Regions from separate parts of the Homo sapiens genome. Here region 2 is linked to region 1. The links are contacts of gene promoters, found by promoter capture Hi-C in blood cells and fetal thymus (Javierre and others, 2016). All regions are on one chromosome and are shown on one strand. Each heading gives the region's core, a stretch centred on a gene start or on the middle of the fragment in contact. The rest is flanking DNA. Distances are from core to core; before and after follow the strand shown. Region 1 holds the start of RHPN1-AS1 (RHPN1 antisense RNA 1). Region 2 has its middle 27 kb from the start of EPPK1.

Region 1 (4,323 bases), core at 424-2,923:
TGGGGTCATTTCTGGACGCTGTGAGAGACACGGCAGCCTGGAAACAGCTTCTCCCCAACTTTCCAAGGTGGCAGCCCAGGGAGGGCCAGGACAGGGAGCCCAGGCACAGCCCCCAGCCTGAAAAGCGTCACCTCCGGAGCCCTCTGGGACATCTTGTTTGTACAGCCTCCCAAACATTCCACCCAAAACAACATGTGCCGTCCCAGGCCACCTGCAGGCATGGCCGCCCTGACAGAGCAAGTTCATAGGGGGCAGGCACAGGCTGCCTCTTTCCCTCCAGTGCCCAGGAGGTGCTGCAGCCTCTGGCACGCCTCGGGGTGGGCAAGAAGGGCGTCCTTGAGGGCTACGGTCAGCATCACCAGCCCAGTGACCTGAAGCCAAACCCTGGCTGATAGCACCGCCTCCTCCTCTAGGAGACCTAACCCCAAACACCAAAGCCGAGTAGAACCAGCCCAGGGACAACACAGTCTGACGTCCCAGAGGGGAGGAGGGCCGCGCGCTATCAAAGGCTCACCCGGGGCGAGGAGCAGGAGCAGCCCGCGGCTGAAAGCCCGTGGCGGGCGTGGGCGCCCAGGGCCTGGCAGGAGGACTGGGGCAGCCTCGAGCTGGTCCGCAGGGAACAAGCAGGCTCTGGGCTGCAGAGCAAGGCCCACAGACGTCCCCTCCTTCCCAGGCACAGACTCAGCAGGTCTCCACAGCCCTGCCCACCCCTCCCACTTGCCCAGTCAGCACCCCGGGTTAGGGACTTCAGAAGGGAAGGAGGTTTGGGAAGTGAGAAGAGGCCAGCCGGGAAGACCTCTCTCGGTTTCCCATACCCAGGAGGCTTCGCTGCCCGCTGCTACCAGTGCACCCAATGGGCATGCAGTTCCTGAGCGGATGCAGAGGGAGGACCGAACTAGGGAAGGAGGCTGTACAGGTGCCGGAAAGGAACACGATGGCGGGTGTGGGGAGGGCGCTCACAGAGCCCAGCCCCACATCCGCCCAGAAGGGGGACACGAGGAGGGCGTCCCCCCAACCCGCTTCAGCGGTGAGGATGATCCAGACTTTGGCTGTCCGCATTTCCCGGCTCACATGAGTGGCCTGGAAGCACCTCCACCGAGCTCAGAGGAGGAGGGACGCAGGCTCTGGCCTCAGTTTCCCTGCCTGCGTCCGGGCCGAATGAGACGTAGGAGGGGGGCGCCCGGAACGCGCCTCGAGGGGGGGCAGGAAAAGGCCGGGATTCCGGGCCCCTCCTCCCGCCGCCGCGCCAGTTCTGCGCACCTGCAGCCGCGGGCTCTCCTCGCCGGCGCCCGCGCCGTCCGGCCTCTCCTCCAGGATCATCGCCGCACCCGCTGCGCTGGGGGTCCCTCGGGGTCAGCCAGCCCGCCGCTCGCGCAGCGCTCCGCAGCCGGGCTAGGGCCGCCCGCACCACCTGGGCCGCGGGCTCCTGAGTGCCCGCGCCGGTCCCCGACTGTCCCTCCTGAGTGGGGGCGGCCCGCGGCGCGGCTGGGCGGGGCACGGGTCTGGCGTGCGAAGCTGGCCATTGCCCAATAGGCGGCAATGCCGCTTCGACGGACAGCTATATCAGCCAACCAGAGTTCCAGGAAGGCGGGCTCTGGACGGCCAGCTCCGCCCGCCCGCGGGACGGTAACCCCTGGCAACCGCGGCCGGAACGCCCGCGGCTGGCTGGCAGGTTGTACTGCGCATGCGCCGCGGCGGCCGCTGAGCGTGCGGGAGAAGTTCGGGAAACGGAGAAAAAAACTATACGGAACGTCCCAAGCTGAGAGTCAGGGCGGACCTGGACTCGGCGCGCCTAGCTCCTCGGCTCCCTTTGCGGGGACTCCAGGAGTCTGCCCGCTCGCGCCGTTTCGTCCTGTCACCCCGGCAACGGGACCCTCTAAGAGGCTTGTTCCAAAAATGTTCACAATGGGGTTTTTAAAAACGGTTTTGTTAGGGACAAGTGCTTGTGTGAGTCCTCCGACAATGCCTGCTTTCTTCTCTCTGCCCGCGGAGCGGAGGCTCCAGGCCTGGCCCCAGTCCGAGGCGCCTCTGTCGGTGTCGTCCTGCTTCCAAAACCGGCCTCCAGAACCCGCCTCCTTCCAGAACCTCCGTCCAGAACCCGCCTCCCTCCAGAACCTCCGTACAGAACCCACATCCTTCTAGCACCTGCCTCTGGAACCCACGTGCTTTCAGAACTACCTGTTTGTAGAACTTGTTTCCAGAACGAACCTGCTTTCCGAATCTCTTTACTTCCAGAGCTTGTTTCCTGGACTGACCTATTTTCAGAACCTACTTTCAAAACCAGCTTGCCTCCAGGACCACCTGCTTGGAGAACTGGCCTGCAGCCCCAGGACTGGACGACCTGAGACTGCACAGCTCCCTGCGGGGCTCACCCGGCTGTGTGTGTCCTTCCGGGCCTTCCATACTTCCCTAGGTGTCTGGTGACTCCGGAGCCCGCTCGGATTTCGTGTGGGTCTCGCCTCAGCTCAGAACACACCCTTTGAAGAGCAGGAAGGCCAGGGCACAGGCGGTAACCACGGCTCCTGGTCATCAAGTTCCTCTGAAGCCCAGGTCTTGTCCACGTTCACTGCCCCACCACAGGCCCAGCGGAGCCTTGGAGCTGAGCCCTGGGATCATTCTGGTGCCTGTGCTCCCGGCTCCGCAACAAGCACACAGGAGCCTGTCATCCCCAGATCTAAATCCTGAAGGCTAAGCTCCGTGGTCTGCCGCAGCCATCTGCAGCAGGCCCCTCCCAGCAACAGCCTTCTCATAAGGCCCCTGCCAGCCACGCGAAACCTCCTGGCTAGGGCCTGTCTTCCACTCCTGGCCTTTTGAGACAGGGCCTCACTCTGTTCCCCAGGCCGGAGTGCAGTGGTACGATCACAGCTCACTGCAGCCTCCACCTCCTGGGCTCATGTGATCCTCCCACCTCAGCCTCCTGAATAGCTGGGACTACAGGCTTGCACCACCACACCCGGCTAATTTTTGTATATTTTGTAGAGACAGGGTTTCGCCACATTGCCCAGGCCCAGGCTGGTCTCAAACTTCTGGGCTCAAGCAATTCATCTGCCTCAACCTCCCAAAAGTGCTGGATTACAGGGATGAGCCACCATACCCGGCTTTTTTTTTTCTTTCTCCTGGCCTTTTGGGGCCCTTGAAGTGTCTGCTCCCTGGGAGCCCTTCAGCTTGTCGTCCACTTGGTGGGTTCCCACCCGTCCTTCTCACTTCTGCCTGAATCACACAGGCTACATGAGACCTTCACCCACCCCCTTCGCCAGCAGCTCTGTGGTTCAAGTTTCCTCAAGGTTAGGGGCTCCTGGCCATCTTACCTGTGGGCCTGAGCATGGGCCGATGCTTCCAAAGTTCACACTGGGTGCACTTGTGTGGGGACTTCCATGTGAGTCATCTCCTTGCAGGCTGCCAAGGTCCTGTACAGCAGAGACCCAAACCCTCTTAGCAGTCTTCAGAGTCAGCTATGTGTACAGGAGGCATTACCATATCAGTGACTGTCAGCAAGCATGTGTGACTGAAATGGTATCCAGTTCTTACGTATTTGTTTTGCAGGCTTCTTGGTTCAGCAGACAGAGGCCATTGGGAAGTTAAGAGAGGCTCTCAAACTTTGAGGGTCATAAGACTTCCCCTCCCTGCAGGGTGCTGTTTCCTGAAGGAAAATATTCAATTACTATTTTCTTTATTTATTTATTGAGATGGAGTCTTGCTCTTGTCGCCCAGGCTGGAGTGTGTGCGTGTGCGTGTGTGCGTGTGCGTGTGTGTGCGTGCATATGTGCGTGTGTGCGTGTGTGTGTGTGTGTGTGTGTGTTGGAGGGGGGTGGTGCTGCCTTTTTCTTTGCATGCTTCTGTGTTACTGGATTTGGCACAGCAAGAATGTATCACTGCACTCAAAAAATTTAGAGTTTCCTTTTTGTTTTTTTAAATTATTTTAGATTTGGAGGTACATGTGTGGGTTTGTTACATGTGTATTGTGCACTTCTGAAGTTTAAAAATTTAGGGGGAAAAATGAAAGGATGGGAGGTGAGAAAGTAGAGGAGAATTTTGGTGTGACAGGCAGGGAACTGGACAGCGGCGGGAGGGGCACGGCAGTGAGCGCCGGGACCTTTTGCAGATGAGGTGATAATTGCTGATGGGGCTGCTTTATGCTCGTTTTCTCTTTTGTAATTTATAAAGAAAAAAAAATTGAGACAGGGTTTCGCCCTGTTGCCCAGGCTGGTCTTGAACTTCTGAGCTCCAGTGATCTGCCTGCCTTGGCCTCCCAAAGTGTTGGGATTATAGGTGTGAGCCACTGTGACTGGCCTTTTTTTTTTTTTTTGAGACAGGGTGGCTCTC
Region 2 (4,156 bases), core at 294-2,793, 540 kb before region 1:
ATCTATTGTCATTTGATTTTAAGTAAAGGTACAGAAGAACTTCAGTGAAAAAATAATGATCTTTTCACCATCTATATGCAAAAAATTAATCTCACACCATGTGCAAAAATTATCCCAAAATGGATCACAACTGGAATCTAAAATGATAAACCATCTAAAGGAAAATGTAAGAGAAAAATCTTTGTCATTTTTGAGTTATATTTCTGAAATATAACACTAAAATTATGATCTATAGAAGAAAGAGATCGATAAATTGGACTTCATCAAAATTAGGAACTTATGCCCTTTAAAATACACTGTTAAGAAAATAAAAAGACAAGCCACAGACTGGGAATAATACTTGTAAATCACATAACTGATAAAGGACTTGTATCCAGAATATACAAAGAACCCCCAGCACTCAATAAACAGAAATAATCCAATTTAGAAATAGACAAAAGATTTCAACAGACCTTTCACCAGTGAAGATATATGGATGGCGAACAGCACATAAAAAGATGCAAGAACATTAGTCATTAGGAAGATAGAAATTAAAATTACAGTGAGACACCATCATGCACCCACTAGAATGCCTGAAAATTTAAAAAGACTAAACATGTCAAATGTTGATGGGAGGTACAGCAACCAGAGCTCTCACACTGAGCTGATGGAAATACCAGTGCTTCAACCACCTGGAAAAGAGTTTAGCAGATGCAGGCTGGGCACCGTGGCTCACGCCTGTAATCCCAGCACTTTGGGGCTCCTGAGGTCAGGAGTTCAAGACCAACCAGGCCAACATGACGAAACCCCATCTGTACTAAAATACAAAGTTAGCTGGGCGTGGTGGTGCACGCCTGTAGTCCCAGCTACTCGGGAGGCTGAGGCAGGAGAATCGCTTAAACTCAGGAGGCAGAGGTTGCAGTGAGCTGAGATCACGCCATTGCACTCCAGCCTGGGCAATAAGACTGAAACTCAGTCTCAAAAAAAAAAAAAACTTTTACTGCCTTTGTATTTTTCAGGAAGAGGGTAGAGATTTTGATTGGGACTCTGGACTTTGTCAAATATCCATGTTGAAAATGTAAGAGCAACTATTCAAAGAATGGAGACGCAGTGTGTCTGTCCGTGGAGTCCCAACAGGAAACAGGGTGGCTGAGGAATGCTAACAAAGAAGCCATTCACCGCGGCATGGGCGGGGGGTGGCAGCGGGAAGGAGGGTGGCCCTGCAGGTCGCTGGACCTGCCGGCACTTGCTACCTCAGGCAGATCCTGGTAGAGGGCTGCTGCTTCCCGTTACGGTAGAACAGGTTTCTCCATTTCCAAGGTGTGTGTGTGTGTGTGTGTGTGTGTGTGTGTTTTGAGACAGAGTTTCACTTCCGCCTCCCGGGTTCAAGCGATTCTCCTGCCTCAGCCTCCCCAGTAGCTGGGAATACAGGCATGAGCCACCACACCCGGCTAATTTTGTATTTTTAGTAGAGACAGGGTTTCACCATGTTGGTCAGGCTGGTCTCGAACTCCCAACCTCAGGTGATCCACCCGCCTCAGCCTCCCAAAGTGCTGGGATTACAGGTGCGAGCCACCACGCCCAGCCTCCAAGGTGTTTTATCTGCTGTGTATTCACCTGGTTCTGAAAAGTCCCAACGAAACAACTTAATATTACAAATTTCATCATCAAAATGGCTGACCCCAATCAGGAAACATGTGGGCTCCTGAACATTCCAGAAGCAGCAGCGATGCCAGACAGGTGAGCCCCAAAATTGAGGCTGAGCCTGGGAAAGAATTCAAGGACGAGCCGGTGTGTTAGACAGCAACTTTTAATTTTTTGAGACAGGATCTTTCTCTGTCGCCCAGGCTGGAGCACAGTGGTGCCATCATAGCTCATTGCAGCCTTGACCTCCTGGGCTCAAGCAATCCTCCTGTCTCAGTCTCCCGAGTAGCTGGGACTACAGACGTGTGCCACCACACCCAGCTAATTTTTGTATTTTTTTGTTGTAAAGACGGGGTTTTGCCATGTTGCCCAGGCGGGTCTTGAACTCCTGGGCTCAAGCAATCCGCCCACATTGGCCTCCCAAAGTGCTGGGATTCCAGGAGTGAGCCCCTGCACCCAGCCTAGACAGCAACTGTTACTAAGTGGCCAACCAGACCTGCAGCAAAGGGGCTGCTCCTTGAGAACAGGGACCACCCGACAGGCAGTGCACCCAGAGTCGCAGCTGAGGCAGGGCTGAAGTCAAATTTATACCCCAAATTTTTTTTTTTTTGAGACAGGGTCTTGCTCTGTCACCCAAGCTGGAGTCTGGTGGCGCCATCAGGGCTCACCGCAGCCTTGAACTCCTGGGCCGAGGTGATCCTCCTACCTCGGACTCACAAAGTGCTGGGAATACAGGGATGAACCAGGGCATCCAGCCTGCCCACTTTTACTTACATGCAAATTAAGGGGCGGTTTATGCAGAAATTTCCAGGATGAGGGTGGCAACTTCTGGCTTGTCTGGTTGTTGCCATGGAAAGGGGCAGTAACTTCTGGGTGTTACCACGGAATGGTAAAATGACATGGCACACTGGTGGGCGTGTCTTACAGGGAGGTGCTTCCACCTCCCTGTAAGACACTTGTTTTAGCTAATCCTCACTTTGGTCCAGTGTCCAAACCCCACCTCCGGAGTTGAGTCCTGCCTCCTACCTCAGGAGGAAGGCTGCCCCAACTGCTGGGCCCTGGGAGAGGCCGTTCTTCAGTGCTGGGAATGCATTGAGCAGGGCTGCACGCCACAGACAGGAGTGGAGCCCTCCCACCCCAACACACACACAAGGCCACCCAGCAGTCTTGTGTCCTGGGCAGAGGGCTGATATGGGGAGGGGCAGCCCCCAGGCAGGAGACAGTGGAATTGTGATGGGGATTGCACTGAATTTGCAGGTCAGCTTGGGGAGTGATGCTGAGATGACTTTCCGTTCAATCATGTCCTCTTCATTTCCTTCAGTAATGTTTTCTAGTCTTAAATATACAAGTCTTGACTTTCTTTGGCTACGTTTATTCCTGAGTATTTTATTATTTGCAGTGCTATTGTGTGTGGAGCTGTTTGCTTAGTCTCATGTTTGGATTGCCTACTGCTAGCATGAAATACAACTGATGTTTGTATATTGTGGAGACAGCCCACCGAGCATCGCACCTGTCCTCCAGGGCCTCTCAGGACAGCCCAGCACGGTGGCTGGGCCTCGGGGGCAGACCAGCTTGCCCTCCCTACTGGATCATATGCAGGCAGGACCCGGGTCTCTGGGTCCCAAGCTCTCGCCCCCGGCCTGTTTGCCCACCAGGTCCCAGGGACAACGCTGTCAACAGGCTCCTCCTCCCTGGGCCTGGCATGGAAGGGCTTCTTGGTTCTGAGGCCTCAGCTGGTTCCAGCCGACCAACCCACAGCTCCCTGGCAGCCGCCACCCTGAACTGGAGTCTCGCCATAACCCTGGGCTGCGGGCCCTGCTGGGTGAGGAAGAGAATGCTTAGGTAGCTGCAGCTGCTGACCCGGAGGAGGAACCTCTCTCCTGGAGGCATTCATCCCACACTCTAAGGAAAGGGAATGGACCACTTGAGCCCAGGAGTTCGAGGCAAGGCAGGACGCCCTGAAGGGATGGGGCAGCTGTGATCTGTGGGAAGTGGCTTCCTGCTCTACCCGTCTCGGAACAGGAGGCTTTGCCGTCCTAGAAACGCGTTCGGAAGATGGGACACCTTCAGCTTACTCAACTCACCCGCTTAAATCCCTGAGTTAAAAAAAAAAATTAACTGATCGTCCTTAGGAGATCCCGGCAACAAGCTTACATTTTTAAAATTGATAAATAAAAGAAAAGAATCAAGCTCTTATTCTGTCTTTCCTATGCAGATGGGCCGCTGGGTAACCAAACAGCATGAGAGGGAGGTTTGTCATCGCGGAAGTATTCCAGCCAGTGAACAAAGAAGGCATAGCTGAGGGGATATCCACCTTCCGTGCCAGACAGCGCATGTCAGCCTCCCAGGGGATGCAAGCCTCAGCCCCGCAGACCTGCTGGAAACCTGGTCAGTTCCACCATGTCACATCCTGACACATTTCAGAGCCTTTTGGGGGCAGAGTCTTATCCCCCACCCTGGAGCCCTGTGCGTGTTTGCTGAGGGACTGCTGGCTTCAGCCCCCCGAGGAAGCCACACCCCTGGGGACCACAGC

Evidence for each region. The method cuts DNA at HindIII sites, captures the fragments that hold promoters and counts their contacts. A CHiCAGO score of 5 or more calls a contact.
Region 2: a contact is called between a fragment that was not itself captured here and the fragment with the promoter of RHPN1-AS1 in region 1, in 1 of 17 cell types (activated CD4 T cells). The highest score is 6.0, in activated CD4 T cells.

What each region holds. Positions count from the first base shown.
Region 1 is chr8:143,365,985-143,370,307 of GRCh38, reverse strand. It overlaps RHPN1-AS1 (RHPN1 antisense RNA 1), which reads left to right and starts at 1,673. Exons shown (of 1, transcript NR_026785.1): 1 at 1,673-3,685. It overlaps RHPN1 (rhophilin Rho GTPase binding protein 1), which reads right to left and starts at 1,432. Exons shown (of 15, transcript NM_052924.3): 1 at 1,261-1,432. The coding sequence starts at 1,320. RefSeq lists enhancers at 1-270, 271-1,178, 1,919-2,474 and silencers at 966-1,015, 1,216-1,675, 1,686-1,755. The HindIII fragment of the contact is 29,655 bases long and covers 1-4,323 here.
Region 2 is chr8:143,903,261-143,907,416 of GRCh38, reverse strand. No RefSeq gene overlaps it. Among named protein-coding and RNA genes, the nearest start is that of EPPK1, 27 kb to the right of the region's middle. RefSeq lists an enhancer at 4,009-4,156. The HindIII fragment of the contact is 4,462 bases long and covers 1-3,774 here.